Linked DNA regions of Homo sapiens: regions 2 and 3 are each linked to region 1. Evidence: promoter capture Hi-C in 16 types of primary human blood cells and fetal thymus (Javierre and others, 2016). All regions are on one chromosome and are shown on one strand. The core of a region is centred on a gene start or on the middle of the fragment in contact, and the rest is flanking DNA. Distances in the headings are between cores, read along the strand shown. Region 1 holds the start of FLT4 (fms related receptor tyrosine kinase 4). Region 2 has its middle 14 kb from the start of OR2V1. Region 3 holds the start of RASGEF1C (RasGEF domain family member 1C).

Evidence for each region. The method cuts DNA at HindIII sites, captures the fragments that hold promoters and counts their contacts. A CHiCAGO score of 5 or more calls a contact.
Region 2: a contact is called between a fragment that was not itself captured here and the fragment with the promoter of FLT4 in region 1, in 1 of 17 cell types (neutrophils). The highest score is 5.2, in neutrophils.
Region 3: the fragment with the promoter of RASGEF1C here is called in contact with the fragment with the promoter of FLT4 in region 1 in 2 of 17 cell types (erythroblasts and endothelial precursors); the score reaches 11.6 in erythroblasts.

The regions. Positions count from the first base shown.
Region 1 is chr5:180,646,881-180,651,381 of GRCh38, forward strand. FLT4 (fms related receptor tyrosine kinase 4) reads right to left here and starts at 2,720. Exons shown (of 30, transcript NM_182925.5): 1 at 2,608-2,720. The coding sequence starts at 2,665. The HindIII fragment of the contact is 6,264 bases long and covers 1,528-4,501 here.
Region 2 is chr5:181,114,728-181,119,228 of GRCh38, forward strand. It overlaps the pseudogene LOC729707. Among named protein-coding and RNA genes, the nearest start is that of OR2V1, 14 kb to the right of the region's middle. The HindIII fragment of the contact is 3,501 bases long and covers 279-3,779 here.
Region 3 is chr5:180,207,420-180,211,920 of GRCh38, forward strand. It overlaps RASGEF1C (RasGEF domain family member 1C), which reads right to left and starts at 1,792. Exons shown (of 14, transcript NM_175062.4): 1 at 1,609-1,792. RefSeq lists an enhancer at 1-583 and a silencer at 1,708-1,927. The HindIII fragment of the contact is 1,452 bases long and covers 1,323-2,774 here.

The DNA.
Region 1 (4,501 bases), core at 1,470-3,969:
GGGAGGGCTCAGGACTCCTTCAGCCACACTGGCTCTGTGCCATAGGCCTGGTGGATGAGGGAACAGCACCTGCATTCGAGTCCTCAGAGCCCTGAGCTGGAGCAGAAGGTCCCCAGGCCCAAGTAAAGTGGGCCTGATCCCCACATCCTGCCTGCAGTGACTTGCATCCCTGGGCCACACATCTGTCCACATCTGGGCCTTTGTGACCCAGGTCACAGCAAGGGCAAACGTCCTGAGACCAGGCCACTCCAGATGCCCAGCAGACCCTGCTCCTGCATGTCCCTGAGCTGGTAGCCACAGTGCAGAGGTGCCAATGGCCTCTCTCTAGACTAAGCCCCAAGAGACATCTGTGACCTACCCTCTCCACTGGGGCAAGACTGTGGAACTGCAGCAGGCATCTGGGTCTTGGAGTCCAGCCCAAGCACACACAACCCACACAACCTCGGGGCTTGCCAGCTTGTGCCATGGCTATGCTTGTGCCATGGCTATGCTTGTGCCATGGCTATGCTTGGGGAAACTGAGGTGCAGGGAGGGGAAAGGAGGGGGCCCAGGTCACACAGAAAGGACTTTACGGCAGAGGCAGGACAAGAGTCTGGTTCTATGATCAATAGCACACTTTTAAGGGGTCAGCTTCAGGATGCTCAGGCTTCTGGCCTGCTCCCACCGGACCAGCTGCCCTGACACCCGACTGCAGCTCCCACCGGACCAGCTGCCCTGACACCCGACTGCAGCTGAGGGCTTGTGCTTCCGCCATGGCATCCCCCATCAAGCTGGGGGCTCCCGGGGTCTTCAGCCTAGCAGGGGGTACAGCAAGGTGCAGGGCTCACGGAGGGATGACCTCTGTCTTCATTGCCATCTCCCCACCAGCCAAACCCAGGTCCAGCCCAGGACACCCCTCTCCATGGGGCGCCCAACTAATGCCCTCTCTCCTCTTCATAACTGGGTCACTAAGAGTCACTACTTACTGCAGGGAATAGCTTCCTCACCCTTCACCCCACGTCCCTCTGTGCTCCACCCGGGAGCACCAGGACACTGGCCTCTCCTGGTTCTCCTTATACCTGCAGAATGTTCCCTGGATCCCTGGAAGCCCCCTTGCCCTCTGGGCCCCTCCTCCAGGGTTCCCCTCCCGGGTCTCTCTCTTCCTCTCCAGCTACTCAGCCCAGCTCAGACACTGCGCCCAGGTGCCTGTCCCATGTCTCCTCCAGGATAAGCGTCTCCCATTCTACAGCCCTGCAGTCCAACCAAGGTCTACCAGCCACTCGACAAATACATCCTGAGCACCTGTGGGAGCCTGGTCCTGGGCTGGGTCCAGGAGGGCCAAGGGCAGCGCCCTGATCTGGCCTGCCCGACTCGGAGGCCCAGATAGATGTTCTCCTCCCTCCTCCCCTGGTTGAGCCAGACCTGCCCCCTCTCCTGTCCTCTGCCCTTCAGCCAGTGGACATACAGGTGGTGAGCAAAGGCAGGCTTTGTCAGGCTTACTTTGGGCCTCCTGGGGACCTTGGGGAAGTGACACATGTCCTTGGTCTAAGCTTCTCCATGTGTAAAATGGGTCTGACACTCCCTGTGAGAATTACAAGCATGTAAAGCCAGTATTTAATTCCTATGGCGTGCAGAAATGTTGAGGTCCCCGTCGCTGACTTCAGGGCTTCAGACACTGGAACCCCTGACCCCGCCCTTACACCCTTTGATTTCCAGGGACACCAGCTCCGTGGGGACTCCCAGCTCATCTTCTCAGCTTCCTCCCTGACATCTCCATCCACTCCCTCTGCCGCCCGCTCATCCCCCACAGTCCCTCTTTCCAACCCCTCCGCCTCCGCTTCAGGTCTGCGTCTCTCCCCGCCAGAGCCACATCCCAACACAAACCGAACCCCGCCTCTCCTGTGCAGGGGACCCTCCCGCGGGGGCCTCTGCTCCTCAGCTGGCCTTCGAGGCCCCTGTCCCCTCAAATCCGGGGACCCCTGGCCTTCCGCCCCTTCTGCGGCGCTGACAGCCCGCGATTCGCCTCCTCAAGATTCGTCTCAAGTGCCAGCGTGCACCTGCACCCGTCCGCCTCGGGCGCGCGGTGGTCCCCGGCCCCTGTCCCCGCCGTCGCCGGCCACGGGGAGGGGGAAGCCCGCCTCGAGCGCCCTCTGGGGGACCGACCGCGAGCGGAGGCGCTGGGCGTCGGGAAGTGCGCACCCAAGTCCGGGGCCCGGCCGGGATGGATCTCCGGCGCGCGTGGGTCGGGACGGCGCGGCGCGGGGACCCCGCGGGGAAGCGAGTAAGGGCGCGAAGGATCCGGGCTCAGCGCGCAGCCCGGCAGGGCCCGGCTCCGAGGACGCGGAGCCACCGACGGAGACGCGGATTCAGGGGCCGGGAGAGCTACCCCTGCGCCGAGGCGCGGCCCGGCCGCCCTGGCCCTGACCCGGCTGCGGTCCCCGCCCGCCCCTTCCTCATCCCGAGGTCCCGCGCCCCAAGCGCCGTGCTCCCCTCAGGCGTCCGCGCACCAGGGCCACCGTGTCCCCCGCCCGTACCCGGCGGAGCGGTCTCAGCGCCCGCCCCAGGTGCGCGGTACCCCCTCCCCGGCCAGCCCCACGCTCGGGCGGGTGGCCCGTTCGCCGCGCTCACCGTCCAGGAGTCCCAGGCAGAGCCACAGTCGCAGGCACAGCGCGGCGCCCCGCTGCATCTCCGGCCGCTGCGCGTGGGTCCGACCCGAGCGGCCGCGGCTCGGGGCTGAAAGTGTCCGCGCGGGCGCCGGCTGGCCTGGGGCGGGGCGGGGCGGGGCGGGGGCCGGAGGCGGGCCCGGGATTCAGGCCGCTCCCCGCGCCCCCCTCCCCCCGTCCCTCCCAGCCCGCCGCGGGGCGTCCGGTGCACCCGAGCAGTGCGCGCTCCGCACCACAGGGTCCGGGCCCCCTCCTGGGCGGCTCCGGGCGCGGGGACGCGGGTAACGCAGACGGTCTCGCGATGCGCTCCGGAGGTGATGGAGCCTGGTGGGCAAAGGGGAGCAAAATGCGGCACGCGCTCTTTTCCGTCCTTTCTTTCCATCGGTAAAATCTAGACTAAACAAGAAAGCAATCCTTGTAAAAATAGTATGTTACATCTTTGAAAATAGTGGCACCAGCCGGCGTAACATAGGGAGACCCAGTCTCAAAAATAAACAAGCAAATAAATAAAATAATACGCCGAGCTTGGTTGTGCGCGCCTGTAATCCCAGCTTCTCGGGGGGGCTGAGGCAGGAGAATCGCTTGAACCCGGGAGAAGGAGGTTGCAGTGAGCCGAGATCGCGCCACTGCACTCCAGTCTGGGAGCCAAAAAAAAAAAAAAAAAAGCAAAAACAAAACCCGTTCAGCAGTGTTTACCTGCACAGTGTCGACGGACAGTGTCGACGGAAGCCGCACCCGTGAGCGGGACACCCGGGATGACCGACCCCCTCCCTGCAGGCCTGGCCTCCTAGCTTTAGAACTCCCCCAGATGTTTTGTTCTCAGCTCAATCAGGACCCGCCCCCACCTTTTTAATAAAGCGACACTTTGCTTTTGCTTTCTGACTTGGCAACCCTCTTACAGACTTCCGTTCTCTTTTCAGTTTGTCTCTAGAATTTTCCTGTTTAATAATGAAGCCCATGACCATGACTGTCTCAACCTCCTTCCCTGCTTTTCGTTTCATTCACATTTTCCATCCCCCCACCCCCGCCCCCCAAAGCCCTTTCATCCTCGCCAAAAAGCAAGAGTAGATTTTCAATAACCACTACCAGCTCTCTCCAATCCAGGTAAGAAGTGGCTATATTATTAAGCTGGAATCACAAATCAGTGCGGATAGTGTAGATAATTTAACAAATAAGGTTGGGGAAACTAGGTAACCAAGCGATACATGAAGTTAGGTATTTATCAATCATATATTGATTTTTTTTAGCTTTGAAAGATTATGAGATGTAACACACTTATGGAAAGTACATAATATATCAGCATATTATAAACCTGAATTTTAAAGCAACAAATACCTGTGTTTCCATTCTCCAGGCCAAGGGATGTAGAATGACATCCCCACATCCCCTCACTTCCCATCACAAACCCCTCACCAACCCCAGAAGATGCCCACTACCCTGGCATTATCATTTCCCTGCTTTTGTTTATCATTTTATCATCAAAATATATGTTTTGCTTTTTTTTTCAGAATGTACTTTTTTTTTTTTTTCTCAAAGTCTCTCTTTTGTTGCCCAGGCTGGAGTGCAGTGGGACGATCTCACTGCACTGCAATGCAACCTCTGCCTCCTGGGGTCAAGCAATTCTCCCGCCTCAGCCTCCTGAGTAGCTGTGATTCCAGGCACCCGGCACCATGCCCGGCTAATTTTTGTATTTTTAGTAGAGATGGGGGTTTAACCATGTTGACCAGGCTGGTCTCAAACTCCTGACTTCCTGATCTGCCAACCTCAGCCTCCCAAAGTGCTGGGATTATAGGCATGAGCCACTGTGCCCCGCCCAGAATATACTTGTTTTTTTTTTGTTGTTGTTGTTGTTTTAGACA
Region 2 (4,501 bases), core at 779-3,278, 470 kb after region 1:
TGGGGTGCTGTGTGATGCTGCTTTTTGGATTCGGAGCCTGCGCAAACACACCGAGAAAAAGAAGCTCATCGCTGCCGTGGTGCTGGGAATCCTACTCAGCAAGATGCTGAGAGGCTGAGATGCGCGGTGCGCGGCGGCGAGTGGCGGAGCGAGGGGCGGTTTTCAGAGGCGCTGTGTCTGTGTGTCCCCTCAGTGCTGAGGTTCGCTGCAACATCGGCAGAAACCTGGCTGCTAAAGGCAACCAGACGGGCGCCATCAGATACCACCGGGAAGCTGTAAGCTTAAATCCCAAGTATGTTCATGCCGTGAATAATCTTGCAAATGTCTTAAAAGAAAGGAATGAGCTACAGGAAGCTGAGGAGCTGCTGTCTTTGGCTGTTCAAATGCAGCCAGACTTTGCTGCTGCGTGGATGAGTCTAGGCATAGCGCGGAGCAGCCTGAAACGCTTTGAAACCGCCAAGCAAAGTTACCCGACGGCGAGTAAACAGAAGGAAATACCCAGACCGTTACTACAGCCTCCGGCGTCTGCTGATCTCAATCGCCAGGTGGACGCCTTCAATGCGTGGAGAAATGCACCGAGCTGAAACCAGCGCGCAGCCTGGCCTGGAACAACGTGGTTACACTGCTCACGACCCAGGTAGTGCAGCCCAAGCCGAGGCAGTTGGAAGAGACGCGCTGGAATTAATACCTGATGATCACTCTCTCGTGTTCTCCTTGGCAAACGTGCTGGGGAAATCCCAGAAATACAAGGAATCGGAAGCCTGACTCCTCAAGGCAATTAAAGCAAATCCAAATGCTTCAAGTTACCGTGGTAATTTGGCTGTGCTTTATCATCGCTGGGGACACCTAGACTCGGCCAAGAAACGCTATGAAGTCTCCTTGCAGCTTCACCCCACGGCATCAGGAACTAAGGAGAATGCAAATGCAACAGAAAGACGCTGATCCTTTTTCCTTCATGTTTGGAGTCTGAGTGTGTGTGTGCATGAGCATATCTTTAATAGTATGTGGTTACATTTAACCATTTAAAAGTCTCAGACATGTGATTTTATTGATTTTTTTCGGCGCAAAAAGATGATAGCACCAGCAATATACTCTTGAATGCTTGATATGATTTTTTCATTGAAATTGTATTTTTTCAGACAACTCAAATGTAATTCTAAAATTCCAAAATTGTCTTTTTTAATTAAACAGAAAAAGAGAAAAAAATTATCTTGAGCAACTTTTAGTAGAATTGAACGTACATTTGGGATCTGAGCCTTGTCGTGTATGGACCAGCACTATTAAACTTCAATTATGACCAAGAAAGGATAGACTGACTCCTACAATTTGTATAAATATTGAATGTGTCTGTATGTTAGCATTTTTATTTAATGAAAAAGCAAATTAAGATTCTTGTTTTTTTAATCTCTCTTTTTTTAAAGCAATATACTGTGAACTTCGTTTGTAAGAAAATATTTATTTGTATTTTTATGTCTGGAATAGGGCAAATAATCGAACGAGGAATGGAAATTTTAACATGTAGTACAGCTACATGCTGTTCCCCACAGGAAGAAATTGACTCTTGCAGTAGTTTTGGATGCTCTGACTTGCACAATTTCAATACATAGGTGGTTATGCATAATCGATTACTATCAATAGAAAGTTCAAGCCATGCTTTAGGCAAGGGCAGGCAGCCTCACATCTTTATGTTTGTTACATCCAGGGTGAAGAGGGCAACACATCTGTGCAAGTTGCTTTTGAGTGTTTTTAACTGAAAAGCTGTTTTCCATTTTTGCTTAATGAAACTACAGAAATTACTCTATCCAGAAAATGCAAAATTTTCTCTCAAATGGAGCCACATTTATGGTATTTTTAAGAATTGAGTTGTTCCTGCTGTTTTTTATTTGATCCAAACAATGTTTTGCTTTGTTGTTCTCTGCATGCTGTTGACCTAATGATTTATGCAATCTCTGTAATTTCTTATGCAGTAAAATTATTACACAAACTAGCAAAAAAAGAGAAAGAAAAGAAAAGAAATGGAGAACACGGGGCAGCTCAGGCAGAGAACCCATCTGCGTAATAAAAGATTAGTATGGGGACTACCAGAGATTTGTGGCCTATGCAAATGGCACGCCTGGTCCACCCAGTTTTTCTCGCCCGATGTAGATCAGACACCACCTCCTCACCAGCTCATCAGTAACACCCCCTGCATTTCACTGTGGATCCAGGAGCCCATTTTTCTGAGACCCCTCTCTGTAGCAGAGTGGTTATCTTTCTTTCACCTATTAAACTTCTGCTCTTGGCCAGGTGTGGTGGCTCACACTTGTAATCCCAGCACTTTGGGAGGCCGAGGTGGGCAGGAGGTCAGGAGTTCGAGACCAGCCTGGCCAACATGATGAAACTCCATCTCTACTAAAAATACAAAAACTAGCCGGGCGTGGTGGCACACGCCTGTAATCCCAGTTACTTGGGAGGCTGAGGCAGGAGAATTGCTTGAACCCGGGAGGCAGAGGTTGCAGTGAGCTGAGATGGCACCACTGCATTCCAGCCTGGGTGACAGTGAGACTCCATCTCAAAAACAAAACAAAACAAACAAACAAAAATCTTCTGCTTTTAATCTCACTCTTTGTGTGTTCACATCCTTGATCTCCATCACCATGAGACAATGAACCTCGAGTATTATCCCAGACAACGAGGCCGCTTCAATACACATTTGGTTTATCCATTCATCAATTGATGGACATTTATGTTGTTTCCACTTTTTGGCTATCATGAACAATGATACCATAAACAGTTGAGTACAATTCTTTACATAAACACGTTTTCAATTCTCTTGTGTATATACCGAGGACTGGAGTTGATGGGTTGTATAGTAACCGTATGCTTAACCTTTTGGTATAGCAAAGTGAAACTTACAACATAGCAATTCCACTCATATCGTTTATATGAATGGAATTTATATGAAATTTACAGGAAAGGCAGATCAATACAGACAGAAACCAGATCACTGGTTGTCTAGGTTGGAGGCTGAGAGCCAGGGTTGGCTGCAGATGGGGATGCAGGAAATTTTTCTGACAAAGGAACTGTTTTAAAAGTGGATTGTGGTGATGGTTGCAGAACTGTATACAGTGACTAAAAATCATTGAGCTGTAAACTTACAATGAGTGGATTTTATTGTATTGAACTGTGCCCCAATAAAGCTGTTAGGGAATGCTAAACCATAAAAACAGACCCCCAAACACAGCAGCGAGGCAGTTAGTGTTTCCCAGGGATCAGCTGAGTGACCGTTGCAGTGTGCAAAATGATTCCTGTGGCCCAGAGCATAATAATGTTCACATAAGGCTTTAATGCAGCCTTGGCGGGCAGGTAACTTGCACCTTGAAACTTGAAGTTCTTGCTAGTGTTGCTTGTAATTAAGCTAAAGTAATTGTATAAATGATAAACATATGAGTAAATTTAAGGAGATGCCAAGTAAATGAAGGAGATGAGCAACCACCATGAGACTGAAGCTGGGAGGGGCGTGATGGAAGTCATCCAATCCAAAACTGCCGGAATAGAGACCTTGCCAACAGATGAGTTTAAAAAACGAAAAGTGCATGTTACAGAAACGAAATGAGGATCCGTCATAGGATCCAGTTTATGGCCAACATGGGCGCATCCACCCAATAGTGTGAGTCTGCAGGAGGGGCCAATGTGTGCTGCTGTGTTTTGTGTGTAATGTGCAAAGTCCTGGTCCTTGAGGAGATGGGGGCACTGGCTTTTATTTTCTACAGCTGTCTTCTATAATCTAAGGAGAGAAAAGCTTCTGTTGATGAGCACGCGGGGCTGCAGGAGGGTCGTGGTGTTGAGCGTGCTGGCCCTCTGCAGGGGCCGCCTGGGCAGGTCAGCTCCTCCGTTGGCTCTCAGAGTTTGAGTTTCACAACCCCTGGAGGTCCTGGTTCCTCCTGTAGAATGGCTCTGTCCAAATTTCCTCTTATAAGGACACCAGTCAAATTGGATTTGGGCCCACCCTAGTGACCTCATTTTTGTATAATCACCTCTTTAAAGACCCTATCTCCAAAAACAGTCACATTTTGAGGTCCTAGTGGTTGGAGCTCTAAGATATGAATTTTGAGGGGGACGCACTTCAGCGCTAGCAATGTCTTTCAGGCCTCAGGACTCCAGCTGAGCAGCGAGGCAGAGTCCAGATGGCAAAGGGAGGCTCTGGAGGGTTTCACAAATGGGACCATCCTGTGCCACTTTAGGCAAAAGGTGGAAGGAAGTGATCTTCTGGGGCTGCTTGGCTGGTTGTTCCAATGAATCCAGGAGAAGCAACCAGGTTAGCTTTGCCTTTGCCCTTTGGAAATCCATTTGGATTCAGTTCCAGTGTTGCATGGGCCTGGAGGCTGTGCCAACGTGGGTCCAGGGCACAGTTTAGGGACCTGCTCTGTGACCACAGGCCAGCCATTCCCATCTCTGAGCCTGTTTCACATCAACAAAATGAGAGGGTGAATTAAATGATCTCTAAGGTCCCTGCTCACCT
Region 3 (4,501 bases), core at 542-3,041, 440 kb before region 1:
AGGCCCCTTGGACAAATGGCTGACTCTGGATCTGGGTCCAGGTACAAGTGAGAGCTGGAACCACCTCAGAGACTGGCGGGGACATGGCAGGAGGGTGCAGACCCCGGCCTGAAAAGGGCCAGGTCCCGGGCAGGGCCCCACCTCTACCTGGTGGCCTGCGGGCTCCCCCTCGCCAGTCCCGCCCTGGGCTCCGCAGCCCGTCCCTCTCTCGCCTGCCCTCCCTCTCCTGCCCCGGCAGTGCGCCCACCCGCCGCCACGGGCAGCCTTTCGACGCCCAACCTGCAAACCGCCTGGGGGCTGCCCAGGACGTCCAGACCCTGTAGCGTCTCAGCTCCAGCTCCGCCCCCTCCTGCCCTCAGGGATCTCACCCGCGCTGTTCCCCCGGGCTACCCGTCCATCACAGGCTGGGCTCCCCGCTCAGGACAGCCTCCCTGACCAGACGAAGGCTCCGCCGCGCCCTGGTCTCCCTCTGCCCCAGTCACCCTACTGCATGTTCTTCCCAGCACGCATAAGATCTTGGCCATGTCCTTGCTTTTGCCTTTGATTTCTTGTTTGGTGTCCCCTCCCACACCAGCTAGTGAGCACTTACGGGGGCAGGCAGCAGGCGGCACACAGTAGGCGCTCAATGAATGTGGCCAGTGAGTGGACAACCCTAGCCCCCCTCCACCGGTCGCCTGCACAGTGGCTGCACTATGGCTGTTGGAGCCAGTCTTACCAGAGGTGGGACCCCAGCGTTGCCACTCCATGGTCCCGCCCCTCTCTAAACCTCAGTTACTCCACCTGCCTGGCAGGCAGAGCTTCCCAGGACTCTTCTCAGGCTCCCGGGGCTCAGAACTTCTGTCTCTCCCACAGCCCCAGGAGGCAGGAGATACGGGCCCGGAAGAGCTCCACCAGCACCCCAACTTCCCAGCTCTGTCTTTCCCACAGTTTCCCACGCCCACGCTGAGCATGGGGCGGCGTCGCCAGCACCCTTCCCCAAGTCCCCCCAAGCATCGCTTTCCCAATCTAAATACAATGAGTGGACCAGGTGGTCCCTTGATGCCGTCCGCTGTCACTGCGTGAGGGACACACCCAGGACTCCCAGCAGACCCCACTGTTCTCGCAGGCCCTCTGATAGTGGCGCTGGTCCTTTCCTCAAATCCGATCCCATCCTCAAGGGTGACAGCACCCTCTTCCCCCAGGCGCAAGGCCCTTTCCCTTCTGCACGTGCACCGGCAGGTCTGCTTTCCCGTCCCCATTTCATAGACGGGGAAACTGAGGTCCGGTGCGGGTGGAGGCTTTGGTCTAGGCTGGCTCTTCCTGCCACTCTAGCGGCTGAAAGAAGCTTGCTCCTCGCGCCCAGCAGGGGCTGGCGGCGCGCGGCAGAGCTGGGTCTCCCGCCAGGTGGCCGGGGGTGTGCCCTCAGGGTACCCTACCCGCTACCCCCGCGCCTCCAGTCCCGGCGGCCGCGCGGACCCCGCCCCTGCTGACCCCGGCGCACGCTCCCGCGCCGCGCGCAGCCTCCCGCCTCCCGCCGACCCCGCCGCGCCGCCGGCAGCCCTCCCCAGCCCCCGCGAGCCCGCGCCCTTGCCCGCACCGCCAGGTGTCCCTCGGCCGCGCACCACTCACCGGCTCCCGGCGCGCCGGAACTCCGGGCCCGGCCCATGGGCAGCTCCCGGTGCGAGCCTCGGCGCCGCGGACCGGGGCGCCGCCCGCCGCCGCCGCCGCCGCCGCCGCCGCCGCCGCCGCCGCCCGACCGCCCGGCTCCCAGCGCAGCCCGCACGAGCGCCTGGCGGCGGCCCCGGAGCAACGCGGCGCTGCGCCCCCTCGTGGCACTCAGGCAGCGCGGAGCGGGCGGGGCGCGGGGGTGGAGCTGCGGGAGCCCGCGGGCGGCGCTGCACACCAGGGCCCTCCGTGCCCCGGCCGCGGAGCCAAGCGTCCCGCCCTGCGTTCAGGCCTCCGCGGCGGCTGGCCCCCCGCGCCAGGACCACCCGCTCGGGCCGTCAGACGCTGCCCTCCCGCGCGCGGACCCTGGCGGACTCTGCGCCCCAGCTGCCCCAGCCTACACCTCACCTGGTGGGCCTCTGGCGCCCCAAAACCCAGTTCACCCTCTCTCCTCAAGACTGGGCCCGGCCCGGTTCTCTGGACTGGCCACCTAGGTTGTCTGTGTCCCCCAATGGGACATCCCTGGGTGGACACCCCCCCTCCCCAACCTTCTCGGCGCTCTCCCGTGGCCCCCAGGGAGGGTGGACACCACTTTGAAGACACCGGGGTTCTGGGAGGATGGCGATGCATGATTTCACTTTTAGAAAGGGAGAGGGGCTCTAACAGGATCCAGTGGCCTCCTTGAACTGGGTCTTCAGTGAAAAGTTCCCTGGTTGGTCCCAGCATAGAGGTCAGGACACCTGTCCTCCTGTGTCCGCAGTTTGTCCCTTCCGCTGGGTTCCTGGTCTGGCTGACTTCAAGAATGAGCCAGGGACCTTGGCAGTGAGTGTTACAGCTCTTAAAGGTGGTGCGACGGTGAAACCCTGTCTGTACTAAAAATACAAAAAAATTAGCCAGGTTTGGTGGTGGGCGCTTGTGGTCCCAGCTATTCGGGAGGCTGAGGCAGGAGAAGGGCGTGAACCCGGGGAGGTGGAGCTTGCAGTGAGCAGAGATTGCACCACTGCACTGTAGCCTGGGCGACAGAGCAAGACTCCATCTCAAAAAAAAAAAAAAAGAAAAGAAAAGAAAAAGGTGGTGCAGACCCAAAGAGTGCGTAGCAGCAAAATGTCTTGTGAAGAGCAAGAGAACAAAGCTTCCACAGCAGGGAAAAAGACCACAGCCGGTCGCCGCTGTTGCTGGCTGGCGAGGGGTGGGCGGGCAGCTTTTATTCCCTTATTTGTCCCCACCCATGTCCTGCTGATTGGTCCGTTTCACGGAGTGCTGATTGGTGCGTTTTTACAGAGTGCTGATTGGTGCATTTACAATCCTCTAGCTAGCCAGAAAAGTTCTCCAAGTCCCCACCCGACACGGAAGTTCCAGCTGCCTTCACCTCACTCTGCTTTAGTCAGGACCTGCCTGATGAGATGTGGCCCAAAACTCAACCCAACCAGCTTGAGCAAAAAGCTGGTTTGTGGATCATAAAAAGCCAAGGTTTACTGCTTAGAGGAATGGCTAGATCCAGGTACTTAACCTATGTGCATAGAAACTGGCCTCCCCTATCTCCCAGTCTTTCTGTGGCAGAATGGCCCTGGGTTGACACCTCAGAGAGGGCACAGCTGCCTGATAGTTGCAAGGACAGCCTGCGGCTGCCACACACAGGCTCCGAGGAGCTGAGCTCAGGCCATTTCCAAAGACCTAGGGAGCAGGAATAGCAGGCCTGGGTGTCGTCTCACTAGAGCTGAGGCAGAGTTAGTCCTGTGTCAGCTTTGAGGATGGAGTAAGGTGCTGTTCCAAGCTTCCGTGAAGGCTGTTCCTGGAAGAATGGACAGGTTAAGAACAACAGTCCAGCCCATTTCTTGAACAGTTAGGGAAACTGAGTCCTGGAGAGAGCAGGCAGCTGCCTAGGGCATACAGATGTATTAGAATGAATGTGGGCCAGGTAGCTAGGCAGGGAGACAGCAGGGCTGGGGCCAGGGCCAGGGCCAGAGGCTGGCCCTAGGGAGGGTGACATCTGAGACCAAGGGTCAGGTGTGGGGAAAGGGAGGAGGAACAGAGGCAGGCACTTGGTCAGGGGTGAGCAGTGTGCTCCCAGCAGATAGACAGATGCGCCTCAGGGTGCAGGCACTGGGCCCTCCCTGCATCTTCTCCGATTATCACCCTATGCCCCTAAGCCTCAGGTCCAGTCCCAGGGTGTCGCCTGGAGGAAGCCAGGAGTCTAGGAGGAGAGGCCGCAAGAGGCACCTCAGAAGAGCTGACCCACTCAGCTGTGTTGTTCTGGGGTCTGGGCAGCACTGAGCGGCCCTCCTAACCAAGTGCAGGTCAGGGTGGTGAGGCCAGTCTTTCCCCAGCTCACCCTTGCTCTGTGAGCAAAGGCTGCTGTCCCCTGATAAAGAACTTTCTCCAGCAAGTGGCTGGGGCCACTGAAGCATGATTGCCCTGCTGGGAGCAGGGTAGGGGATGCTTGGATGAGGCCAGGGCAACTGGAACATGGGTGTGGACTAGCTCATGGCCACAGCTCCGTGTCCCACAGGGGTGAGGGTGGCAGAGCTTTGCTCTGGGACAAAGGAGAAGACCGTGTCCCCTGAGGTCTCCTGCGTCCTCTCCCTGCCAGACCCATCGCTGCCGAGAGTTGGGCCTGTGCTGAGGAAGACGCATGAGCTGCAGTCGCGGCTCATGCAACACCAGGAAGGTTTTTGAGCCTCGCGGCCAGCGTGGAGTTCTGCCCTGAGCCTCCAGCTTTGTGGGACCCTGGCTGCAGGTGCCACCACTGGGCCCTGGGAGGTATCTGCTCCCGCCCCCTCATAGCCCACCCAGGAGTGCCCTCTAGCAAGGAACCTCTCCTGCCCAGCCCCTACCCTGCCCACCCAACTTCTCACTC